3 separate regions of the Homo sapiens genome follow, and all the other regions are linked to region 3. The links are contacts of gene promoters, found by promoter capture Hi-C in blood cells and fetal thymus (Javierre and others, 2016). All regions are on one chromosome and are shown on one strand. Each heading gives the region's core, a stretch centred on a gene start or on the middle of the fragment in contact. The rest is flanking DNA. Distances are from core to core; before and after follow the strand shown.

What was found. The method cuts DNA at HindIII sites, captures the fragments that hold promoters and counts their contacts. A CHiCAGO score of 5 or more calls a contact.
Region 1: a contact is called between a fragment that was not itself captured here and the fragment with the promoter of COPS7A in region 3, in 1 of 17 cell types (activated CD4 T cells). The highest score is 5.5, in activated CD4 T cells.
Region 2: a contact is called between a fragment that was not itself captured here and the fragment with the promoter of COPS7A in region 3, in 3 of 17 cell types (non-activated CD4 T cells, total B cells and activated CD4 T cells). The highest score is 9.2, in non-activated CD4 T cells.

What each region holds. Positions count from the first base shown.
Region 1 is chr12:6,527,235-6,531,846 of GRCh38, reverse strand. It overlaps NCAPD2 (non-SMC condensin I complex subunit D2), which reads right to left. Exons shown (of 32, transcript NM_014865.4): 23 at 3,959-4,070; 24 at 3,756-3,879; 25 at 3,519-3,674; 26 at 2,991-3,168; 27 at 2,808-2,902; 28 at 2,254-2,334; 29 at 1,889-2,072; 30 at 1,030-1,156; 31 at 771-926; 32 at 1-520. The coding sequence ends at 435. Among named protein-coding and RNA genes, the nearest start is that of GAPDH-DT, 4.9 kb to the left of the region's middle. The HindIII fragment of the contact is 2,203 bases long and covers 1,132-3,334 here.
Region 2 is chr12:6,971,422-6,975,968 of GRCh38, reverse strand. EMG1 (EMG1 N1-specific pseudouridine methyltransferase) reads right to left here. Exons shown (of 6, transcript NM_006331.8): 2 at 1,529-1,630; 3 at 1,276-1,417; 4 at 821-879; 5 at 591-740; 6 at 1-273. The coding sequence ends at 160. Among named protein-coding and RNA genes, the nearest start is that of EMG1, 2.8 kb to the right of the region's middle. The HindIII fragment of the contact is 838 bases long and covers 832-1,669 here.
Region 3 is chr12:6,722,232-6,726,591 of GRCh38, reverse strand. COPS7A (COP9 signalosome subunit 7A) reads right to left here and starts at 2,546. Exons shown (of 8, transcript NM_001164094.2): 1 at 2,413-2,546; 2 at 1,774-1,978. The coding sequence starts at 1,935. RefSeq lists enhancers at 1,892-2,111, 2,242-2,381, 2,412-2,621. The HindIII fragment of the contact is 1,412 bases long and covers 2,449-3,860 here.

The DNA.
Region 1 (4,612 bases), core at 984-3,483, 190 kb after region 3:
CCTTGCATTTTAAAGAGCGTGTAGGCATTTTTTTTTTAATTTGAGATGGAGGTTCGCTATTGTTGCCCAAGCTGGAGTGCAATGGTGTGATTTCGGCTCACTACAACCTCCGCCTCTGGGTTCAGGCGATTCTCCTGCCTCAGCCTCTTGAGTAGCTGGGATTACAGGCGCACGCCAATACGCCCGGCTAATTTTTTATTTTTAGTAGAGATGGGGTTTCTCCATGTTGGTCAGGCTGGTCTCGAACTCCCTACCTCAGGTTATCCACCCGCCTTGGTATCGCAAAGTGCTGGGATTACAGGCGTGAGCCACAGTGCCCGGCCTTTTTTTTTTTTAAAAAAAAGAGACAGACAAATATTTTACAAGGGAAACAGAATTCGAATTCCAGGTCACCCTACAGGATACCCTGCACAGGGAGGACAGGAACAGACTTCCTAGGATCTGTGCCTGCGAGCCGATGCTCTGAGAATGGGAGTTGTTTTCTTGGGTGTCTCGTCTTCTGTCATCTCTGCTGAAAGATCTATGCAAAGAATTAAAGGAATAAGAAAAAGCTGAGTCACAAAGATGGTGAAAAAATAGATATCAGAGAACAAGTGAGACAATCCCACACCGCACAGAAGAAATAAAATCCAAGCTGTACAGGAGAGGCCCTTCTGCGGCAGTGGGGCAGAGCATCTACACTCAGGCCCCCGCAGCAGGTCCTATGGAAACCAGCCCTCTGCACCCTAGCTGTGTGCCTTCTCGGCCGGGAACAGGCGGGAGCATCATACCTTCCTCACTGGACTCATCACTTGAGAAGACAACTTTGGGTTTCTTTTTGGAAGCTCGCTGCTGGGTGTTTGGATGCCGACGGGTAGTACGGCGGGGCTCTGGTGTGACAAAGTCATTGTCTGAGGCTGTAGAAGCCAGAGGCTGGTACCTAGAACCTAGAAAAGGCAGGAAAACGTGATTTAAAAAAGAAGAAGAAACAAATCACTGCAGGAGGGGAGGGCCCAGTCTGGTCTCGCCCGCACAGGCTGCCTTACGTACCAGTGGATGGTTTCTTGGCTGATGGCGCTCTCTGGCTACCTGCTTGGCCAATCTCAAGCTCCTTGATTCCATCCAAACCTCTGGTATGACAGGCCCGAAGCTTCTGCTCAAATTCATCTATTATAGCCTGGAGGGAGAAAAGGAGATTCAGAGCAGGCCTGAAAACAGTTACTTCTGATTAAAAAGAAACAAGGCCATGGAAGACATGGAGGCCTTAAACGCACATTACTAAGAAGCCAAGGTGAGAAGGCTCCATACCGGATCATTCCAATGATACATTCTGGAAAAGACAAAGTGATGGCAACAGTAAAAAGATCAGGGGTTGTGGGGAGAGAGGGATAAATAGGTGGAGTGCAGGGGATTTGTAAGGCAGTGAAACTCTTCTGTATGATACTGCAATGGTGGGTACATGTCATTACGTGCAGTGAACTCCAAGGTAAACCATGACTTTAGGAGATGATGTGTAAGTGTAGGTTCAGCTGTAACAAATGTGCCACCCTGGTGCAGGATGTTGAAGGTGGGGAAGGCTGTGATGTGTAGGGGCAAGGGGTAGAAGGGAACTCCCTGTACTTTCTGCTCAATTTTGCTTTGAACCTAAAACTGCTCTGAAAAATAAAAACTATTAAAAACAAACAAACAAGAATTGGATGAGATGCTGCTTTGGTTGTGTTTTTGGAGTAATAAAAAAAGAACTGGAGACAAAGATCTGGTCTTAGGTCACTCTGGCAATTTGGTTGCAACCCAGCTGGGGATAAGGAGGACGGGAAGGTGACTGCAAGAGCCGTATGCTGCCCAGGGCCGGCAGATGTCTTAGCCAGCCCAGAACCCAACAGGCATTGAAGTGTCCTGTGCTGCTCACCTTGCCCTCAGGCTTGGCCCCACGTCGCAGCTTGCCTACAACTGACAAAAAAGCACTGAAGATGGACTCATCTGACAGTTTGTCTCCAAAACAGTCAAAATTGTCAAGCATCTTACGGAGGCCTCGCTCTGTGAGGGGCAGCTGTGACACACAGTAGGCCAGGTCTCGCTGCTGCCGCTCAGTTCTGCAGATAGGAAGGGCTTTGTGAGGAACTGGGAGATCCAGCTAGTAAAGGCTCAACCTTCCCCATCAGCCTCCCCAGTCCCAGGGATGCCACAGTGGGGGCATTGAAGGGGTGAGGGATGGGCCTTTCTCCCCTGCAGGGCCCCGCTCAGCACAAAGAACCCTCAGGGAGGGCAGCATACCGGGATGTGCGGAACCGCTGACACAGCTTTTCCACCAGGCTCTCTGTCTGCTTGTCCTTGGTGATGTAGGAGAGGAGCTGTCTGCAGGAAGGGGAGATGAGGATGTTCGATGGCCCAGGGCCAGCTCTGCCATCCACTAAGACCAACCCTGGACCCTCCCCCAGCACTCGTCTTCTCTGATGTTCTCTGCCACGGCCCCTGTCTGCCTCACCACTCCCCTTGCCCTGTCCCATTCAGCAGAGAGGGACCCCACCCCGCCCCCGGCTCAGGAATTTTCACTGTGAATGGAAATTAACAGGAGCAGCTGCTAGGGAGTGAGTGCTACTGTATGTCTGCCACCATGTTAGGAACTTTATCGTATTTAATATTTTCAAGAACTAAGGGTTAAGTATCATCAGCCTCAAAAGAAGAGGAAATAGGCACAAAGAGAGGCTAAGTTATTGCCGAAGGCTGTACAGCTAAAGAGTAGCCGAGGTGGAATTCAAATACAGGTGTGTCTGATTCCTAAGCCCGTGCTATGTGGAAAATGTGCCCCAGGGCCCGGGGAGCAATACTTCATGATGGTGTGGAAAGGCTCTTCCTCCACCCCCAGCTCGGGGTCTGACAGGCGGCTGATGATATCTGGAAGGAGATTATAGATTGCGTTGCCCTGTAAGACAGAGAGAGCCATGTTAAGGAGATGAGGTGACCTACAGATTCCCTCTGCAGCCAGCCCTCAGTGCCTCTCTGCCTCTCACCTTGTGGGAGAGCTCATTGAAGAAGTTCTTGGCCAGGGCAGCAATCTGAGGCTCGGGGTCGATGAGCAGCACCGCCATCTCGCTGACCTGCCCCTTCACCTTCACCATGTCCTTGAGGATCAGGTGGGTCATCACCAGCCCCGCTGTTTTCCGCACTTGCTGAGCAGGGTCCCGGAGACTAGGAATGGAATTGCGGGTCATGGGGACCGAGACCTCCGGGCTACACCCTAACACTGGTAGAAAAGGCCCTCAGCAGGAATCAATTATCCCATGCTCTGCCACTCCAGAAGCAGTCAGAAAGCTGTCTAGAGTTGAAAGCTGGAGTGGGGGAAAGAGGTGAAGCTTCTAACCAGAAGTGTCAGTCCCACTGGGGTGACTCTTAGCCAGGGGCCTGTACAGGTCAAGTATCAAGCAGATGTTCGCGGTGATGCCAAAGCCTAGGGGAAGAGCCCTGGTGATTCTCACACTGACTCTCAACAGACTCCGGGGCTCCTGGGAACTGCCACCACGTTGTGAGGGGTCTCTTACCGAGCATACAGATGAGGAGTCCAGGGGTCCACCAGATTGGGAAAGCGGATGGCCAGATCCCCAGTGGCAACCATGAGGTTAGACCGGACAATGGGAAGTGGAGACTTTTCCAGCATGGTGAACAGAAGACGAAGCTGGGAGTCGCAGAAAGTGGCACTAAGAGCAAGAAGAGGATCATTAGGGAAGCCATTTCATCCCCATCTTCCTTGAGAAGGGGGTACCAACCCCACGGCCTACCTGATCATGCAGAACTTGCCAAGGGCAAGTGAAGCAGCTGCAGAGAGGTCTGGGTTGCTATAGAGGCCTGGGTTGTTACAGACTTTAAGCAAGAGTGGAACAAAGGCAGCCAGTGTCTGTTTGCCTGTTGGAAGAGTAACTGCAGGTTTGGGACAGGTTATCTTAATTGGGAAGAAACTGCTGAGTGCAGCCATTTTTCTTACCATCCAACAGTTCCATCTCGCAGATGCCACGGATTAGTTCTGCCTCTGTGTCATCTGCTGTTGCCCCAACCAGCCCCAGCTCCTCCTCCATGGTGGTCTCAGAGCTCGTATTCTAAAGGGAATGAAATTGGGGATCATGGATAAGCAGAGACAACATTTTTGATTCCAGCCCATACTTTGTTTTGCATGAACAAAGTGAGGAAGGGCAAATTCTACAAAAACATTTAGAGAATTGTCAAATGTGTCTGTAAAGAGAAAGGATTCCTGAATTAAGCAGGGGAACAATGAGGTCCCCATTTGTTTTAAGTTGCCAAAGCGTGTTTCTGCACCTCTTCCTCATGGAAGACATCGTTTCCTATATATGGTAAACAGATGGATCACGCCAGACAATGGTTCAAAGTCACAGAGGTCAGACTTTTCTCCAGCGCTGCAAGGCTCTGTGTCTTATTTGTCTGCAAGACATCATTGCCTCTAGTGGAGGGAACACAGGGCCCCATCCGGGGCCAGGCCAGCAATGGAAGCTGATGGAAAAGGCCGGCGGGTACGTGCGTGTTCTAACAAACCCTGCCTCAGACACAAAGCCTCTGTTTTATGCTGAGGTCTCTAACTCCACACTCTGCATTTACCTAAATCTTTCCTTCCTGGGTGATCACT
Region 2 (4,547 bases), core at 1-2,500, 250 kb before region 3:
ACAGTATTCATAGGATAAACAAATAGCAAATGTACAGCCTTGGCTTCCCCAAACTCCACAGTCTCAGTGCAGAAAGATCATCTTCCAGCAGTCAGCTCAGACCAGGGTCAAAGGATGTGACATCAACAGTTTCTGGTTTCAGAACAGGTTCTACTACTGTCAAATGACCCCCCATACTTCCTCAAAGGCTGTGGTAAGTTTTGCACAGGTGAGGGCAGCAGAAAGGGGGTAGTTACTGATGGACACCATCTTCTCTGTATACTCCACACTGACCTAAGAAAAGAACAGTTTTGTCAGCCAACTCTGTCACTCAGTAGCTGTTTCAGCCCTTCTTTAGGGCAGGAAAACTATGGCTGAGCTAGTATTTCAGCTGTGCTGTTGAATATCAAATCCCTACAAAGGATGAAGAAGGTCCTAACTGTGACTTCCAATTATGGCAGCAGCCCTCAAAGGATGTGCCCTGGGGCAGGGTGTGGAACTGTCATGTGTCTTCTAGCTCATTGTAAGCATTGTTAAAATGCCTACTGCTCTGGGAATTCTATACTAAGTTCAGCTCTACCAAGAATTTCAGGGTTGAGCCCAGACCTTACCTTGCCATGGGCAAAGGCCCCTACCACAAAAACAATAGGATCACTGCTGGGCACCAGCTCACGCACATCACTGACAACCGGGATGGAAAAAGAAGTGCCAACTTTCATACATCCAACTGGAAAGTGATCTGATACTGGATTCTTAATTACCTAAAGTAAAAAAGAGAGAAAAGTCAGCCCCAGAAACATTCCCAGAACCAGCCTTCAACTAACAGGTTTCAATACCTCACCTTCAAAAGCTTCTGGGGGCCATCAGCTGCTCGAACACTGAGCTTGTGTAAAAGTTGAACTAGAAGGGGGAAAAAAGAGTTCAGAGCTAGATGGAGACCACAGTCCTTCTGTCCAGTCATCGAACAAGGAAAACCCCATGGATAAGATGAGTTCCCTGTGTGCTTTATATCTAGACTGGACTCCTGAAATGTTAGGAACAAACAGTTGCCAAGCATATGGCTAGCTGTACAGTGATGGGTTCAGACTCCCTCTTTCACTCAGCCAGGAAGCTACTGCAAGAACAGGAGTGGAGTTTCCACAAACATAGAAAAATAATAACAGTCCTTGTCCTGGTATTAATCATGTTGTTCTCCCATTTTCTCGCTTAAAAATCCACATTTAGTTCTCCCTTTTCCTCTTCCTCCCTTCTTCCCTACTGACAAGTTCATTCTAACTTTGTTCTAAGGCTTCTTACCCATGAGGCCACAAAAGCGGTCAAAGGTTCTGGGAATTCGGGTCTGGGGATTCACTTCAATCAGAACATTCTTCTGTGTATGGATATAAACCTGTAGCAAGCCAGCTCGGTTCAGGGGACTATCCATCAGCATCAGCAAACTCTGAGCAAAGCAGAAACCGAGACATGGTTAAGGCTGAAGAGAGGCAGCACTCAGCTGCCAACCCTTCCATACAGAGGCTCAAAGGGTTGTGAGCACTGTCCCTGGAGTTACCTGGTGGGTGATATCTGGCCGCGCTTCCCCAGGGTCCCGTCCATTCTTCAACAATATAGACTTGTGCTTGTCACAGTTGAGTAGCTCATATGTCTTCCCTACCTGAAGAACAGGGAACATGACGAGAGAACAGCATAAGCTTCTGTTACCTAGCCCCGTGGTTCTTCAAGTGTGGTCCCCAAACTACCAGCAGCAGCTGCACCTGGAAACTTGTTAGGCAAATTCTCAGGCCCACCCTAGACCTACTAAACCAGGAACACTGGGGGTGGAGCCCAGCAAGCCCTTCGGGGGATTACTGTGCAGCCTTATTTGCACTCCCCAGTGAATGGTCTGAGAGGGAAACAGGAGGAAGGGCACAACCTGTGACTTCACATTATCTACTAATACACTGGATTTAATTAAAAAACCTGTGGCTGTTAGGCAAGGCCAATGAGACATCCTGGAACTAGGCAGGAGTTAGTAGTTAGCAAGGCTGAATGCTGTGTTTATTACAGGAGCAGTAAGTAGGTACTGTGCAAAATATCGAGTCACCACCCTCAGTTTGCGTACACCAAACATGCACTAAGTGAAGAGCTGCAAATCTGAACAAGAAATGTGAAGGCCGGGCGTGGTGGCTCACGCCTGTAATCCCAGCACTTTGGGAGGCCGAGGCGGGCAGATCACAAGGTCAGGAGATTGAGACCATCGTGGCTAACACGGTGAAACCCCATCTCTACTAAAAATATAAAAAATTAGCCGGGCATGGTGGCAGGCGCCTGTAGTCCCAGCTACTTGGGAGGCAGAGGCAGGAGAATGGCATGAACCCAGGAGGCGGAGCTTGCAGCGCCACTGCACTCCAGCCCGGGCAACAGAGCGAGACTCCATCTCAAAAAAAAGAAATGTGAAAACTAATGATGCAGGAGGCAGTTTAATCAAAGAAAACTCTCAGAAGTAAAAGGAAGAGGGGTTATTCCCAGTTTTAAGACGGGCATGGGGGCAGATGCAGTGGCTCACGGCTGTAATCCCAGCACTCTGGGAGGCCAAGGCAGGCAAATCACTTAAGGTCAGGAGTTCAAGACCAGCCTGGGCAACATGGCGAAACCCCATCTCTACTAAAAATACAAAAATTAGCTGGGCATGGTGGCACATGCCTGTAGTCCTAGCTACTTGGGAGGCTAAGGTGGGAGGATGGCTTGAGCCCAGGAGACAGAGATTGCAGTGAGCCAAGACTGTACCACTGCACTCCAGCAAGACCCTGTCTCAAAAAAAAGAAAAAAGAAAGACTGGCATGAGCAAAGGTACAGATGGAATCAAGACAAAGTAGCCAGGTGTGGTGGCTTATGCCTGTGATCCCAACACTTTAGGAGGCCGAGGTGGAAGGATCACTTGAGCCCAGGAATTTGAGACCGGCCTGGGCAACACGGTGGGACCCTGTCTCACAAAAAAAAAAAAAAAAATTAGCCAGGCGCAGTGCCATTTGCTGGCAGTCCCAGTTACTCAGGAGGATGAGGTGGGAGGACTGCTTGAGCCAGGGAAGTAGAGGCTGCAGTGAACCATCACACCACTGCACTCTGTTGCCCAGGCAACAGAGCAAGACCCTATCTCAAAAAAGAAACAAAAAAGAAAAAGTGGAAACGAAGAAAGGAAATTTTGAGGAAAATTGGGAGCTGAGACACTAAAGGGCAGTGATTATATATGAAGCTGCTTTGTAAACCACAGAATCCTAATGTATCAAGCACAAAGCCAAAAATAATTCTGGAGTAAGCAGGGCAGGATGGGAATGACTGACAGACACTATCCTAACAACTCTCTGTACACTGGAAAAGACATCAGAAGTTTGATGTTAAAGAAGTGGACTACATCTGTAGCAGCTAAAAGAAATAATTCCAAGTTGCAATTTGGAGTCCCAAGGAGCATTAGGGTGGTCAGTAAAAAGTCTAAAAACAAACTGTTATATACAAATACAAGTTTTGGAAGGTTAAGTTTTTATGTATCACTGGAATGTATATGTCTAGCAACATTCTTGAGATATATGGCTCCAAAAAGTCTGCGAAAAAAGGGATGTAGATTTTGAAATTGAATAGTTGAAGTAATGTCACAGAGAGCACAAAGAACAAATGACCAAGAACTAAGTCCATGAGACACCCTTAGTTATAGAAGAAAAAAACCTTCTTGAATGAATAATACAGTTTCAACCCATTAGTAGGATATAATCATGTTTTCTATTCTTTTAATAGATTACAGGCGCAGGCCTGTAATCCCAGCTACTCTGGAGGCTGAGGCAGGAGAATCGATTGAACCCGGGAGGCGGAGGCTGCAGTGAGCCAAGATCGTGCCACTGCACTCCAGCCTGGTAGAGACTGAGACTCCATCTCAAAAAAAAAAAAAAAAAAAAGTGTATTTAGAACGAAGATTAAAATCCTGGCCTGACTTCTAAACCAATGCGATTTCTTCTGGGCCTATTCAATTAGTTCTAACGGGTAAGAGAAAGGAGGAGGAAGAACACTGCCCAAGGCTTTAAGATAGAGAACTGCTGGTTCTATTACATGTGGGGAAAGAGATGAATGATAGATAAAAATGCAGATGTAAAAGTTTTAAATAATAACCAGGTCTGGACAGTGTATCATAGGTGGATATTAGAGAGAGGTGACTATGGATACTAATGAATTGAAACACGAAGCCCTTACAAAAAGTGTGGGCAGACTAGGCTACATAACTACGTTTCTCATCTGCCCAGTAACTTGTCTTGGGATGTGGAATGACGCAAGGAACGAAACTTTCCTCTGCTTAGACTACTATACCACAGAATCCTGGTAAACCAATTGGAAGCAAGGAGGTGAGGGCTAGAATATCATTCAAAAAGAGCAAAAGAAAATGAGTACTACCGGCCGGGCACAGTGGCTCACGCCTCTAATCCCAACACTTTGGGAGGCCGAGGCGGGCGGATCACTTGAGGTCAGGAGTTCGAGACCAGCGTGGCCAACATGGTGAAACCCCATCTGAACTAAAAATACAAAAAAATTAGCCGGGCGTGGTGGCA
Region 3 (4,360 bases), core at 1,297-3,796:
TCACTCTGTTGCCCAGGCTGGAATGCAGTGGTGCAATCTCGGCTCACTGCAACCTCCTGCCTCCCAGGTTCAAGTGATTCTCCTGCCTCAGCCTCCCGAGTAGCTGGGATTACAGGCGCCTGCCACCGCGCCCGGCTAATTTTTGTATTTTTAGCAGAGACGGGGTTTTGCCATCTTGGCCAGGCTGGTCTTGAACTCCTGACCTCATGATCCACCCACCTCGGCCTCCCAAAGTGCTGAGAACAGGCATGAGAGGCATGAGCCACCATGACTGGCCCTGTTTTTCGTTTTTGTCTTGTTTTTTGAGATGGAGTCTCGCTCTGTCGCCCAGACTGGAATGCAGTGGCTCGAACTCAACTCACTGCAACCTCAGCCTCACCCTTCCAAGCAGCTGGGACTACAGGCGCCCGCCACCACACCCGGCTAATTTTTTGTATTTTTAGTAGAGACGGGGTTTCACCATGTTAGCCAGGATGGTCTCCATCTCCTGACCTCATGATCCGCCCACCTCAGCCTCCCAAAGTGCTGGGATTACAGGCATGAGCCACCGTGCCCAGCCCTGTTTGTATTTTTAACAGAGACAGGATTCTGCCATATCGGTTTCACCTCCTGCCCTCAGGTGATCCACCTGCCTTGGCCTTCCAAAGTGCTGGGATTACAGGCATGAGCCACCGCACCCAGCCAAGTGCTTCTTTTTCATCACTTTGATTGATACTCTTTAGTTCCACTGCAGATGAAAGCAGGGAAAAGTCAGCCAGTTTTCTCCATATCACAGAGTGATCCAAAAGGTTAAACCACAGGCCCCAAATAACTTAGCTCAGTTTACCCACATACCACTGTCAGCATGTCAGGACTCAGGCTGCCTCCTCTGATTGTAAATTAACTCTGCCACTTTTGTGTGAACGGTTCTCTCTGCTGTGTTCCTAGCAGTTTGCCATGTGTCTCTGGGAAAAAGACACGTTCTCCCTTAGCTAACTTGAATAGATTAGCATATGCTGCACATAGGGAAGAAAAGGGCATGCTAATTTAACATGTTCACTCTCCACTTGTACCAGACTTCACACTTTCCCATAATCTCACTTTATTCCCACAACAGAGAGGGGCAGTATTGTCTCCATTTTTAAAAGAGAAAGTTGGCTAGGTGCGGTGGCTCAAGCCTGTAATCCCAGCACCTTGGGAGGTCAAGGCGGGCGGATCACGAGGTCAGGAGATCGAGATCATCCTGGCTAACACAGTGAAATCCCATCTCTACTAAAAATACAAAAAAGTTAGCCGGGCATGGTGGCGGGCGCCTGTAGTCCCAGCTACTGAGGAGGCTGAGGCAGGAGAATGGCGTGAACCCAGGAGGCAGAGCTTGCACTCAGCTGAGATCACGCCACTGCACTCCAGCCTGGGTGACAGAGCAAGACTCCGTCTCAAAAAAAAAAAAAAAAAGAGAAAGCTGAAGCCCTAAAACAAAAGTGACCTGATCAAGGTGACATGAGAATTAACAGCTACTACACTGGTGGAGACCGGCTGGAAATCAGGTTTCCTATTCTGAATAGGATGCTCTTTTGCTTAAAATGAAAAATAGTGGGCTTTACAGATCCCTTATCTCCAAAGGAGAGCTGGTTTGCTTGTTCACTGGTTACTTCTGCAAGTTGGCATTTAATTATCACTGTTTTCTTGTTCAACTGAATGGTTATTGGATCACAAAATGAGCCCTGCCCACCCATTCTCAAATTCAAACCTTTGCCCACGCTTCTCTGAGGGCTATTCAAGCCAGCAACCCACCTCTCTAACATTGGGCATGTCCAGCAGTTCTCCAAACACGTAGACACCAGGGGCCTCCAGCACCTGATGGATGAGTGTGGCCAGCGCTGCCCCCTTGGCCGACTTGGCTAGGAGCAGAAATTGCTCCTGGTTCTGCCCTGTCACCTTCACTTCCGCACTCATCACTGCACTGAGTGTGGGGGACTTGGGCTCAGGATGTCCAGAGCTGCAAGGAAAGAGGATGTGAAGCTAGAGGTCCCCGATGGCTGGTCGGATGGGAAGCACAAGGCTGAGGGACTGGATTGTAAAGGCACTAAGTCGGTTCTGCGGTGAGGAATCAGACATGGAGCGGTCTAAAATTCTGATCTAGGAATCCTAAAGTCAGCCACTTCGCAAGGCTGCCACACCCACCCCCTCCCCTGGGCCTAACCCCAAGCCCCATCACGTGCACCCCATTGAACCCCAAGACACAGGATGCAAAGGAGAAATGGGTGTCGCATGGTGTCCACCCTGACGACGCTCCCTCAGCTCTCCATTGCTGCCCCGCACGCGCCCACAACCACGTGACCTCACCCCCATTGAAGCTTACACGTGGCTCCGCCCCCTCCCTTAAAGACACCGCCCAGCGACCGTGGGCTCCCGCCGACTGCTTCGTCGTACCCTGGGTCAGGCTCTGCGGGCCGCTACCTGGAAGCTTCGACCTCCAGCGCACCGGGCGGGGCCGCCGCTCCGTCACCTCCGGCAGCTGTTCCAAGCCTTTCCTGCCACCTCCCTGAAGAGTCGCTCTGGCCACTAAACTCTATGGCGGGCTTCCGGCCGTACTTCCGCTCTAAGGACGCAAATTTCGGCAGGACATGCCCCACCCCCGCGTTCCGACCGCTGAAGCTCCAGTGAGGGACGCAGGCATTCTACTCTTCGATTGGTCGCTGGGGGAAGAATGACGGGCGCCTTTTTAAATGCTTTATTTCAATAAAACTTTATTAGTGGAAGAGCGCCAGCTATTAACTACAGACGTCTCTGGTGGGTCCCTGGTCCCGGCCCATTCTGTGTCTGTTCTAAGCCGCTGGAGAGCTGGAGATCAGGACTGCACTGGGTACCTGAGGCAAGAGAAAAGCTGTAACGGAAGGAGTGAAGAAGAGGGAAAAAAACGGGATGAGGAAACAAGGGGCAGAGAGGAAGCAAACAAAAATCAATAATAGAAGTTTAGCAGCAGAGATCACCTAGGTGGTTCAACCACTCACTTTTTTGAAGAGCAGGAGAAAAGAAGCGAGAAAAATAAAAGAGAGAATAAAGCTAACATGTATTGAGTGCTTACTATTGGTCAGACATCTTTTAAAATTTTATTCCGTTGAATCCTCACAAATATTCCCCTGTGACTTCAGGACACCCTCTACCATGATTACTACATATGTATTAATACTTGTAGAATGATGCTTTCAGTACATGGACTCTTAATTTCTTGGGGAGGAAAAAACCCTATGTGGTTCTCATTTTACAGAAAAGGAAATTGAGGCTCATAAAAATCCAAGGATTTATCTGGAGCTTTTCAAACTCAAAACCATCTTTCTACTTCAATATGATACTTTAATAAAAACAAAAACAACTAACATTTCTATAGTGTTTTATATTTCACAACAGGCTTGCAGAAGGTCAAGTGAGGGTAAAGTTAATGACATCTTGGCCTTTGTGTTAAGCCATGAGCATTACTTAATTCATCTGATACAACGATCTAGTAATTGTTATCTCCACTTTCCAGATGGAAAAACTGAACTCAGGAAAATTAAGAAACTTGTAAGTAATGGAAAGACAAGAAAGTGAAAAAGAGAAAGATAAAGAGAAATAGGACTCGTAGTCTGTTAGGGCTAAAGGAACTGCAGATGCAGTTTATGGTCCGCATATTTTGGTTTGTGATAGAAAATAAGCAGAAACACAGAAAGGAAAGAGAAAGGAGGAAGAGGAGAAGAAGAAATGAATGGAAAAGGTGAAACAAAAGTGAGTAGAAGGAATCAAAGGCATAATAAAATATTCAGAGTTTGAAGGAAGCAAGGAATTAATGAGTCCAAACATTATTATTATTATTTTGCATCCACCCCTCCCCGCCCCAAGCTTATCTTTTTTTTTTTTTTTTAATTTGAGACGGAGTCTCGCTCTGTCGCCCAGGCTGGAGTGCAGTGGCGCGATCTCGGCTCACTGCAAGCTTCGCCTCCCGGGTTCACGCCATTCTCTGGCCTCAGCCTCCCGAATAGCTGGGACTACAGGCGCCCGCCACTACGCCCGGCTAATTTTTGTATTTTTAGTAGAGACGGGGTTTCACCGTGTTAGCCAGGATGGTCTCGATCTCCTGACCTCGTGATCCGCCCGCCTCAGACTCCCAAAGTGCTGGGATTACAGGCGTAAACCACTGCGCCCGGCCAAGCTTATCATTTTTAGAGAGAAGGGAAAAACATGTAAGATGAAGGGATGAGAAAATAACCCGTATTTGTTCTATTTTGCGCCAAGTGCTTTATTTGTTCATTTTTTACTTTTTTTTTTTTTTTTTTTTTTTTTTTTTTAGAGGCATGGTTTCACTCTGTTGCCCAGGGTGGCGTGCAGTGATGCGATCACAGCT